Linked DNA regions of Homo sapiens: all the other regions are linked to region 1. The links are contacts of gene promoters, found by promoter capture Hi-C in blood cells and fetal thymus (Javierre and others, 2016). All regions are on one chromosome and are shown on one strand. Each heading gives the region's core, a stretch centred on a gene start or on the middle of the fragment in contact. The rest is flanking DNA. Distances are from core to core; before and after follow the strand shown.

Region 1 (3,987 bases), core at 986-3,485:
ACTTTGGGGGCTCCTCTTTGGAACTGTGTTCAGGGCCCATGTTTTGAACGTCCTTTTTAGTGGCCACTATTTACTCTTTGAGATCAGATCTTCCTGCTTATCAAAGGACCCTAATGAGGCAGGTTTGCTGACTAAGATGGAGGATGACTGTGATCCAGTGGGTGATATGGTCATTCATACAGAAATGGCCACAGTTTTCTTGAGTTGGCTGCAAACCAAAGCAGAGGCATTCTAGGACTATATATGGATTTTCCTTGTGTGATGATGATTTGAGGGATGTAAGGTATTTATGGAAATGTAACTACCAGAAGTTAAAAAATAGCCAGAACCCACATCAACTTAATTTATCAATATTAGCCACTTGAGTTATCAATATTAGCCACAAGTTTTGTTGGTACACACCAGGGATCTGAAATTGGCTGCTCACGGCAGTATATGGCTCTGGGAGGTGTTTTGTGTCATCCTTTTATTGCACTCTGTGTTTATAGCACAGTGTGTTAACAGGCTATGTGATTAGACAGACTTTAAGACTGGTGACCATATAAGCATATTAGCCGCAATTATCTGGTATCTACCCACCCAGTGTGTTTGTATTAATCCTCGCCCTCTAAGGGCATTTGAGCTTTTGATCCCTCCAAGTTCACACTGTTTCTTTCCAAAGGAACTTATAATACTAGGCATTCCTCTGCTCAAATAAATAAATAAATAAATAAATAAATCCCTTTGTGTATTTCATGTCCTAGTTCAAACATCCTTTCAGCCACTCCCAACTGAAACGACTTCTTTCTTTTTCTGAATTTCATAAAATTTCAGTGAACTTCACTCAGCACTCCCAGTCAGCTGACTTCTGCTATAGTTTTTTTGTGAATAGTTCTCATCTCAATTGATAGGGTGTGTCGTTACCAGTGATCTTGCTCCTGGGGAAATAAGGCTTGGATTCTTCCAAGAGATCCACTCATGTTTTGAAACAGCAGACATCAGTCCAAGCATTTTTCTTATTTTCCCTTTTTCTTCTTGGTTGTTTTTTTTTTGTTTTTTTTTTGTTTTTTTTTTGTTTTTTTGACAGCCCTGCTTGCTTTCATTTGGAATTTAGTCTTGGGTTCTGATGCTTGTTATTGACTGACTAGTTTTGATGACTCTCTTAACTCACAACCAGATTTCTAGTGTTGACTTATCCCTGATACACATTAACTCTATTCATTCTAGGCTTTAGTGACCTATCTCTGCTTCTCAGAATATGACTCTGGGCTGCCCTCTTCTTATATTGGGGCTGCTACCCAGAATGAGCCATATTTACTGTCTAGGAAGAACTGGGACAGAAATGAGGATGGGAGTTTATGGAGAATCCTCCTTGGTGGCTCCCTCATACCTAGCACTGGTTTTTGTGTAGGCAAGTCTTTAATAAAAATGTGTGAATGGAAGAAATTTAAAAAATAAAGCAGTTATGGTAGCACGTCATGATGTGACAAAAGTATTTACTCAATTAATAATGGATGCACTTCTTTAGATGAGGTGCCATGGTAGATGCTGTATTCAAAGGTGAAAATATACGGTCTCTTTCTTCAAGGAATTTGCACTCTCCTGGAAGTTGGGAGTTATAAGGAAAGTCTGAGTGGTAAATTTGGACAGAGATGACAGAGAACTTATTACATTGTGGACCTTAGTCCCAGGTCCAGTTCCAAACATATCTTGAATATGTTAAGGGGAGTTACTGTTTCTGCACTGGAAATGTTCTCGCTGCTATCTGCAGAATAATGGCCTCTGGGGGAAGCTGGGTGAAGGATGTGGCAAGCAATAAACACAAGACCCATTTGAATCGTGAGCAGATTTCCTGGGGCTGCCCATTTCTACCCCCTTGTTAAATTTTTTCTGGGATTCTGGTTAGAAAAGGAGATTTTTCACATGGGGTTTAAAAAATTATGACACAGCCCCCTGGAAATCATCCTGTTTTTATTGGCATGCCTTTTAAAATAATGCAAGCTGCTGTGATAGGCAACTGAAATTCTGAATTCTTTTGGAAATGAGAACGCAATCTTACCAGTAAGGCTGAGCTTTTAAATAATGTCAGTTGATGGTGTGATCAGCGTTTTTTGACTATGAAGCAAGCTCTTAAAAAAATAGAACAACCAAAGTGATCTTCCTCTATATAAACTGTAAATTATCTTTCACAGCACCTCATTGGACTGGTGGCTTTGAGGGCTACATTAAGTAGGTTATCCTCTCATCTAACCGGCATTAGTATCTCTTGGGCTGCTGTGAGTGACACACGCTGAGTGGGGTGAAGGGAAATGCTGGTGAATTTCATTTTGAGGTGTGGGTTGCTGTTAGTCACTCTGTCTCTTGCCATTGCCAAGCACAAGCAATCTTCCTTCACCAAAAGTTGTTACCCAAGGGGAACATTGTCCCAAGCTGTTGACGCTCTCTATATCAAAGCAGCATGGCTCAAAGCAACGATTCCAGTAAGTATTAGGCTCTGCTTAAAATCATGACCTCAAGGACATTTACAATCTTGGATACAACTTATTTCTCTTTGTATTATTGTAGGAAGACCGCATAAAAAATATACGATTATTAAAAAAGAAAACAAAAAAGCAGTTTATGGTAAGTCAGAAAGTCTTCTTCTTTTTTACATTTCCACTTATTTGATGTTTATTTCCCCCTGCATTTAAATTTTTTTCAGAGAGTAATTAAGTAATGATCGGGGGACATTAAAAAACGATTCATAATTTACCATATGCAATTTCTTGTATCTTATTTTTAGAAAAACTGTCAATTTCAAGAACAGCTTCTGTCCTTCTTCATGGAAGACGTTTTTGGTCAACTGCAATTGCAAGGCTGCAAGAAAATACGCTTTGTGGAGGACTTTCATAGCCTTAGGCAGAAATTGAGCCACTGTGTAAGTATACACAACAAATACTGTGCATTTGATCCTAGAAACCTGTTTAGAAGTCAGCATGTAAGAATCTGTCTCACACCAAAGGGTGAGTAAAACGAGCTTTGTAATTGTTGGCTTGTAGTCCAAATGGAGAGGTCATCACCAGGGAAATAGCATTAAATAACTGTACATTACTCAGAATGCTGCTATTTATTATTTCTTAAAGAATGGCTCATAAAACACACTGAAGAGAGCTAAAGTAACATGACATGGTTTTCAAATAAATACTTTAAAATCATTCTCTCATTATGTGATTCCCAAGTAATCCATTCATCCATTTAATATTTCTTGAGTACCAACTTTGTGCCAAACACTATTCTAAGTCTCTCTTTCTCTCCCTTCCTCCCTCTCTCCCTCTCTCCCTTCTTCCCTCCCTCCCTCCCTTCCTTCCCTCTCCCTCCCTCCCTCTCCCCTTTCTCTTCCTCCACCCTCCTTCCCTCCCTCTCTCTTTCTTTCTTTTCCTTCCTTCCTTCTTTCTTTACTTCCTTTTCTTTCTTTCTCTCTCTCTTTCCTTCCTTCCTTCTTTCCCATAACAATAATAACTAACTGATGCCCTTTTTCTTATTTACTTATGTTTTTAAAAAAATATTTGTGCCCCTTTTAAGGCATAATCTCAGTAAAAAACTTAAAAAGGGATAGACATGCCTTCTTTGGTACCTAAATTATTTGATGCCTCAGTATGGTCACTGTCATAGCAAGCAGTGGAGAATTAATTAAGAAGGTAAAAGTGATCACATTTCTATGAAAAATTCCACAGCAATAAAGACCAGTGCAGAAAACAAAACAAAACAAAACAAAACAAAACAAAACAAAACAAAACAAAAACACTGAGCCAGAATCTGTGCAATGTTAGTCGAGTTGCCTCTGTGGGGAATATTGAAGCTTTTCTGTGCCCTTGGTTGGGGTCCAAGTATGCTTTCTCCAGCCTCCTGCAGTTGTAGCTTGCAGATGGTACAAAGGTTGGGTTGGGAGCCTTATTGCAATCCTTGGGAAGCCAGTTGGAAAGGAGCTCTTCATCCTGGGCATCATGGTCACTGAGACTTAAACACTGG
Region 2 (3,987 bases), core at 510-3,009, 620 kb before region 1:
GGCAGAGTTTGCAGTGAGCTGAGATAGTGCCACTGCACTCCAACCTGGAGTGAGAGACTGTCTCAAAACAAACAAACGAACAAACAACAACAACAACAAAAAAAAAAACGGCCAGGCGCAGTGGCTCACACCTGTAATCCCAGCACTTTGGGAGGCCAAAGCAGGTGGGTCACCTGAGGTCAGGAGTTCGAGACCAGCCTGGCCAACATGGTGAAACCCCGTCTCTACTGAAAATACAAAAACTAGCCAGGTGTGGTGGTGGACCCCTGTAATCCTAGCTACTCTAGAGGCTGAGGCAGGAGAATCACTTGAACCTGGGGGGCAGAGGTTGCAGTGAGCCGAGATCGCGCCACTTCAGTCTAGTCTGGGCGACAGTGAAACTCCATCTCAAAAAAAAAAAAAAAAGGGTCTACCGTTAGTGGACACCTTTAGTCTTCCAACGAGATACTTCCACCTCCCACCTTGTGGTTAAAAAATGCTTAACTTTGGGCTGGGTGCGGTGGCTCATGCCTGTAATCCCAACACTTTGGGAGGCAGAGGCAGGCGGATCATGAGGTCAGGAGTTCGAGACCAGCCTGGCCAATATAGTGAAACCCTGCCTCTATTAAAAATACAAAAATTAGCTGGGCATGGTGGCAGGCGCCTGAATTTCCAGCTACTCGGGAGGCTGAGGCAGGAGAATTGCTTGAACCCAGGAGGCAGAGGTTGCAGTGAGCCGAGATCATGCCACTACACTCCAGCCTGGGTGACAGAACGAGACTTCGTCCCCCCCAAAAAAACAAAAAGCTTAACTTTGAAGAGATTTGGTCTTCTCAGATGCCTCCTATAAAAAGAAACAAATGTGAGAAAAGGTAGAAAAGGCCTTTTTTGTAGGGAGCAATTTTTTCTAAAAAGGCTTTTCAGCCAAGACCCTCTCTCTTACAATTCTGACACCATATCAACTTTTAAGACTACTTTTTTCTTAGAATGCTTCTTTTTTGCCATTTATTGCACAAACAATAATTTGGGGGGGGACTTTAAAAAATCATAATCAGGCCAGGCACAGTGGCTCAATGCCTGTAATCCCAGCACTTTGGGAGGCCGAGGCAGGTGGACCACATGAGGTCAGGAATTCGAGACCAGCCTGGCCAACATGGCAAAACCCCATCTCCACTAAAAATGAAAAAATTAGCTGAAATAACACAGCTACTTGGGAGGCTAAAGCAGGAGAATCACTTGAACCCAGGAGGTGGAGGCTGCAGTGAGCCAAGATCACGCCATTGCACTCCACCCTGGGCAACAGAGCAAGACGCCATCTCAAAAAAACAAACAAAAAATCACAATCAGTGAGATTAATGTTTAATGAACATACTGTTATTTTTTATTTTTTTAAGAGACAAGTCTCCATCTGTCTCCTAAGCAGAGTGTAGTGGCGCAATCATAGCTCATTGTAACATTGGACTCCTGGGCTCAAGTGATCCTCCCACCTCAGTCTCCCATGCATGCCACCACAATTTTTTGGATACAGGGTGTCATTATGTTGCCCAGGCTGATCTCAAACTCCTGGCCTCAAGTGATCCTCCTTCCTTGGCCTCCCAAAGTGTTGAGATTACAGGCGTGAGTCACAGAGCCTGGCCCAGGATGTTATTTTAAAATTGTCTTTTTGTCTTCTAAATCAACAAGAACTTGATAGTTGCTTTCAATGCCAATCAACATCCTTTACTACTGTATACACAATGTATTTATTTGACATTTGAAAGGAGATACGGCTGGGCGCGGTGGCTCACGCCTGTAATCCCAGCACTTTGGGAGGCCGAGGCGGGCGGATCACAAGGTCAGGAGATCGAGACCATCTTGGCTAACACGGTGAAACCCCGTCTCTACTAAAAATACAAAAAATTAGCCAGGCGCGGTGGCGGGCGCCTGTAGTCCCAGCTACTCGGGAGGCTGAGGCAGGAGAATGGCGTGAACCTGGGAGGCGGAGCTTGCAGTGAGCCGAGATTGCGCCACTGCAATCCGGCCTGGGCTAAACAGCGGGACTCCGTCTCAAAAAAAAAAAAAAAAAAAGAAAGGAGATACAAAAGGATGTTACAACCTGCTATGGCAAGAAGATACAAAGGAACATATTGGTATGAACAGAATACCTCAGAGTTGAGTGTATAAAAAAGGCTTAATTCACCAGATGCAGTGGCTCGCACCTGTAATCCCAGCATTTTGAGAGGTCAAGGTCAAGACACGAGGATTGCTTGAGCCCAGGAGTTCAAGGCCAGCCTGGGCAACATAGCAGGACTCTGCCTCTAAAAAAAGTATATATATATATATAATGTACACACACATACATACATAAACACATATGTATTATATATATATATGTAATATATGTATATTATATATAATATATATATTAGCCAGGCATGGTGGCAACAGGCCTGTGTTCCCAGCTACTCAGGAGGCTGCAGTGAGTCATGTTTGCGCCACTATACTCCAGCCTGGGTGACAGAATGAGACCCTGTCTCAGCAAAAAACAAATAAAAAACTTCAAGGTGGAGTAGGGGTTAATTCAAGGCTACCTAAGCTGGATTTGGGGTGATTATGGTCGAGTGGATGCAAACAGAATATTAAACTTCCATTCATTAAAAGTGCTTACTACCTGCCAGACCCCATACTAGGCTCTATAGATTTATTGTCTCTAAGGTCACTAGGCGAGTAAGTACCAGATCTGTGACTTTGAACTTCCCACTACAATAAGCTTATGAACTTTGTTTAAGCAAAAAAGGTTTGAAAAGTGAAAAGCAAGCACCCATTTCATAGTGTTCTAAAAGTCTAAAATAATCCAGTAGAACATCAGAGATAAAATCCAAAAAGCAAGTTTTTCCCCCAATATTTAAATCAGGGAAGCAACATGATGGTATCTGTAAACTATAACTGAACCAAAAATAGGACCAAACGTAGTGAAATCCATTTAGGGAGATATTACTGTGATCTTGAAGGAAGGCCTACTTAATACAGGACAGTGGGCTGGGGAGGTGTGAACCAAAAATAGACACAGGCAAAAGCGCTAAAATTTAACCCTGAGAAATAAATGAAATTCACCTACAAAATAAATGGAATAAATTTAAAAGGTGAAATTTTGGGCTTGGCGTGGTGGCTTACACCTGTAATCTCAGCACTTTGGGAAGCCAAGACGGGCAGATCACTTGACCCCAGGAGTTTGAGACCAGCCTGGGCAACATGGTGAAACTGTCTCTACAAAAAATACAAAAATTAGGCCGGGCACGGTGGCTCACGCCTGTAATCCCAGTACTTTGGGAGGCCGAGGTGGGCGGATCATGAGGTCAGGAGTTCGAGACCAGCCTGGACAACATGCTGAAACCCCATCTCTACTAAAAATACAAAAAAAATTAGCCAGGTGTGGTTGGCGAGCACCTATAATTCCAGCTACTCAGGAGGCTGAGGCAGAATTGCTTGAACCTGGGAGGTGGAGGTTGCAATGAGCCGAGATTGCACCACTGCACTCCAGTCTGGGTGAAAGAGCAAGACTCTGTCTCAGGGCGGGTGGCAGCGGGGTCGGGGGAGGTGGGGGGAAGGTTAGCTGGACCTGGTGGCTTGCACCTGTGGTCCCCAGCTACTTGGGAGGCTGAGGTGGGAGGATTGCTTGAGCCCAGGAGGTTGAGGCTGTAGTGAGTCATGTTTGCAGCACTGCATTCCAGCCTGGGCGACAGAGCAAGACCGCATCTCAAAACAAAACAAACAAAAGGTGAAATTTTGGAATTAGGAAAGATGCTATTTTTATAAATTGGCTTTAAGCTGTTGGCTGGACATCTAAGTTGTAGCATTCTGAAGGCAGCAGAGATGTGGGATTGTAGGACTGAAACATGAAAATGCCTATCGAATTTTTTTTAAAGTCTTTAAAGGAGAGCTTTAAAGGAAAGCAATACGAATTCAAGTATGTTTCAGTACCACTCCTCTCTCTAAAGACAATCAACTATGGTTTTCATTCAAAATACT
Region 3 (3,987 bases), core at 586-3,085, 600 kb before region 1:
AGTGACATTGATAATTACTAATACTACTACTAATTTTACCAATACCGGTGTTACTCCACTATTTTCCACATTTCTCACAATACCTTGGGTTGAAGGTGGAGATCAATATAGTAGTTTTATTTTAAAGTAAAATTTAGCACTGTGTTTTCTATCAATCTCGTAAGACACATGTACATTCTATCCGTATCCTTATTAGGACTGCCAGGACTAGACTTTGAACAGTAAGAGTCTTGCCTTACTTAAAATGAGAACATTACCGGATTCGATGGCGTCCCTGTAGATTCACTGCTACTGCTTCTTTCACAACATATCTCCCTTATTACACACAGAGCCAGGCTTTCATCAAAGGAAAGGGAAATACTATCAGATTTGTGGCGTTTTCTTTGTCGTTCACCAGATAATTCATCTGAATTTTCTTCTGGATATGTAAGGAAAAAAAATAAATTGCTGTACTGTGATTTAGAAAATTGAGCTGTTTTGAGTACCTATTTGTACAGAAACTTAGTTTCAATAAAATTAGTTCAAAAGTTAACACTGTTTTATTGAATCTGTCCAACTGTTACAGCAGAACACTATCTGTGTGTATTTATTTATTTGTTTATTTATTTATTGTCTGAGAAAGGGTCTTGCTCTGTCACCCAGGCTGGAGTACAGAGGCACAATCTCGGCTCACTGCAACCTCTGCCTCATGGGCTCAAGTGATCCTCCCACCTCAACCTCAGCCTCCCGAGTAGCTGGTACCATAGGAACGGTACCATAGGAATGCACCATTTTGTATTTTTTGCATAGACAGGGTTTCACCATGTTGCCTAGGCTGAGAATACTATTTTTAAAAAGCTTTCTATTCTTCTTTCAGAACTTTATCTCCATACATCACAATTTAATCTATCTAATAAAGTTTTTATTAACCAAAAAATCTAGGAATTTTTTTCTGTCAAAACCAAACTTTAAAATATAAGAGCTCATCTGTTTTTTTCCGAAAAGAGCCAAAGTGTTTAATTTACTCATATGGTATTCTTAATGTTTCAATTTCTTCAGTACCCTACACTTTTTCTTTTGAGACAGAGTCACACTCGACCACCCAGGCTGGAGTGCAGTGGTACATTCTCAGCTCATTGCAACCTCTGCCTCCCAGGTTCAAGTGATTCTTGTGACTTCAGCTTCCAAGTAGCTGGGATTAAAGGTGCACACCACCATGCCTGGATAATTTTTGTATTTTTGGTAGAGACAGGGTTTCACCATGTTGGCCACACTGGTCTCAAACTCCTGGCCTTAAGTGATCCTCCTGCCTCAGCCTCCCAAAGTGCTGGGATTACAGGCCTAAGCCACTAAGCCCGGCTCTTCAGTACCCTATATTTTAAACAGAAATCAAAACCAGTAAAAAGTTTCCATTTCATTTTAAATAATAAATTATCTCTGAATGGGTCAGAATGTTAGACAAATCCGTTAGACATAAATGAGAATACTACCTTATACTAGACATAAAAATGAATTCCAGGTGGATTAAAGATCTAAATATAAAGAACAAAACCATTCAAGTACCTATAACAAAATATTCTTATAATGCTGGGGTGGAGAAGTATTTCATAATACTGCAAAGTCCTCAATAAAAAGACTATCAAGATTAGACCATGTCAAGGTTTACATGACAAAATAAAATACCAAACAAAAGTTAAAAGGCAAAGGTCAAATTCGAAGATAATATCTGCAACATATATAGTAAAAATTACCCATAGTATACATATTATACAAAGTCCTACCAAATCAAGATAGACTGTATTTTCTTTTAAGGAAACAGGAAAAAGCAAGTCACAGAAGAAATACAAATGACTAATAAACATATGAAAAATCTTGAGTCATGTACTTGAGTAATAGAAAAAAAAACTCTTACCTCCTAGGGATCAAAGAAATGCAAAGTGAAATGATATCATTTTTCACCCATGAGAATGACAAAAATTAAAATGAGATAGTATCACAGATTTCTGAAAGGACTTTTTTTATCATTTTCTTGAGACAAAGTCTCACTCTTGTCCCCCAGGCTGGAGTATAATGGCACAATCTCGGCACACTGCAACCTCCACCTCCTGGGTTCAAGCAATTCTCCTGCCTCAGCCTCCTGAATAGCTGGGACTACAGGTGCCCACCACTGTGCCCGGCTAATTTTTTTTGTATTTTTAGTAGAGACGGGGTTTCACCGTGTTAGCCAGGATGGTCTCAATCTCCTGACCTCGTGATCCTCCCTCCTCGGCCTCCCAAGGTGCTGGGATTACAGGCGTGAGCCACTGGACCTGGCCGGGATTTTTACGTTTTATCGAGATCACAAGTTCTGCACGTGAGTTCTTAATCATGTTTGTGTTCCCTATTTTTAAAAAGGTGATCTTGGCCGGGCTGCAATTATAAATAATGCTGTAATTAGTATCTCTACATATAAATCTTTGAATTTTTTATTACATCCTTAGGATAGATTACTAGAAATGGAGTTACTAGGATAATGTTAAGAACTCTAAGACTTTTTTTTCTTTTCTTTTTTTTTTTTTTTTAAGAGGGAGTCTCACTCTGTACCCCAGGCTGGAGTGCAGTGGTGCGACCTTGGTTCACTGCAACCTCCACATCCCAGGTTCAAGCGATTCTCCTGCCTCAGCCTCCCAAGTAGCTGGGATTACAGGCGCCTGCCACCACACCTGGCTAATTTTTGTATTTTTAATAGAGATGGGGTTTCACCATGTTGGCCAGGTTGGTCTCGAACTCTTAACCTCAAGAGATCCACCCGCTTCGGCCTTCCAAAGTGCTGGGATTACAGGTGTGAGCCACCGCACCAGGCCATCTAAGCTTTTTTATAATCCGAAAAATTTAATCAATTTTTACCCACTTTTACCAATTTACAGACCAACAGTTTATCAGTGCTAATACACAAGTTATTAGCACTGATGAGTAAGGATGAGTAAAAATTTTATTTTTACTAATTTGATAGATCAAAAGGACACCCTTTTGGCATTTTTTACTATCTGTAAAGCTAAAAATCACCAAAATTCACCCTCTCCCCATATTTATTAGTCATTCGTATTTACTGTGAGAAATTTTTGTGAACTGTCTGCCCTTTTTGCTATTTGAAGTTTTAATGTTTTCCTTATTGATTTGGGAAGACTTTTTATGTAATACAGATATTAACAGTCAAATTTAAAGTGACTATCTTTCAAATATGTTGTATTCTATTTTTCATTTAACTTTTAAACTCATTTGAAATTCATTTTGGCATAAGGTACAGATCTAACTTCACCTTTTCCCCAAGTAACTACCATTTGTTCTAGTTCCACCTCTGCCCTAGACACCTCTGCCCTTCCTGTCTTCTGCCCGCATGTACGAGATTCTGGTCTGGGTTCATTTATTCTGTTTCACTGATCTGACATTCTCTTTCATCTGAATCATACGGTCTTAGTTACTGCGACTTCCTCAGGCAACAGCCTTCTCGTCTACTACGTCTACTAACTGTTCTCAACTATTTTCTCTCTGTCAACTATTTTCTCTCTCTCTCTTTTTTTTAGACAGTCTCACTGTGTCGCCCAGGCGGAGTGCAGTGGCGTGATCTCGGCTCACTGTAAGCTCTGCCTCCCCAGTTCATGCCATTCTCCTGCCTCAGCCTCCCGAGTAGCTGGGACTACAGGCACCCGCCACCACATCCAGCTAATTTTTTGTATTTTTAGTAGAGATGGGGTTTCACCATGTTAGACAGGATGGTCTCGATCTCCTGACCTCATGATCCACCCGCCTCGGCCTCCCAAAGTGCTGGGATTACAGGCGTGAGCCACTGCGCCCGGCCCTTATCTCTTCATTTCTAAAATGCTATTTACTTTCTGTTTTAAAACTCATAGGTATGTACTACCATTTATTAAAAATAACAATTTAAAAATTTAACTGTTAAGGTGACTAAGAATAATGGTGAAAATAGAGTTTATATGCCTGTCTCCTATTATCTTTCTTTTTAGACGA

The links. Contacts are between HindIII fragments. The CHiCAGO score rates a contact against its expected background, and 5 or more counts as called.
Region 2: a contact is called between a fragment that was not itself captured here and the fragment with the promoter of IL26 in region 1, in 1 of 17 cell types (megakaryocytes). The highest score is 7.6, in megakaryocytes.
Region 3: a contact is called between a fragment that was not itself captured here and the fragment with the promoter of IL26 in region 1, in 1 of 17 cell types (megakaryocytes). The highest score is 5.1, in megakaryocytes.

What each region holds. Positions count from the first base shown.
Region 1 is chr12:68,224,058-68,228,044 of GRCh38, reverse strand. It overlaps IL26 (interleukin 26), which reads left to right and starts at 2,235. Exons shown (of 5, transcript NM_018402.2): 1 at 2,235-2,459; 2 at 2,545-2,601; 3 at 2,762-2,896. The coding sequence starts at 2,289. The HindIII fragment of the contact is 7,284 bases long and covers 1-3,819 here.
Region 2 is chr12:68,845,512-68,849,498 of GRCh38, reverse strand. MDM2 (MDM2 proto-oncogene) reads right to left here. Exons shown (of 11, transcript NM_002392.6): 11 at 3,955-3,987. It also overlaps a transcript of CPM not described here. Among named protein-coding and RNA genes, the nearest start is that of MDM2, 39 kb to the right of the region's middle. The HindIII fragment of the contact is 1,942 bases long and covers 789-2,730 here.
Region 3 is chr12:68,825,202-68,829,188 of GRCh38, reverse strand. It overlaps MDM2 (MDM2 proto-oncogene), which reads right to left. Exons shown (of 11, transcript NM_002392.6): 8 at 258-418. Among named protein-coding and RNA genes, the nearest start is that of MDM2, 19 kb to the right of the region's middle. The HindIII fragment of the contact is 1,992 bases long and covers 840-2,831 here.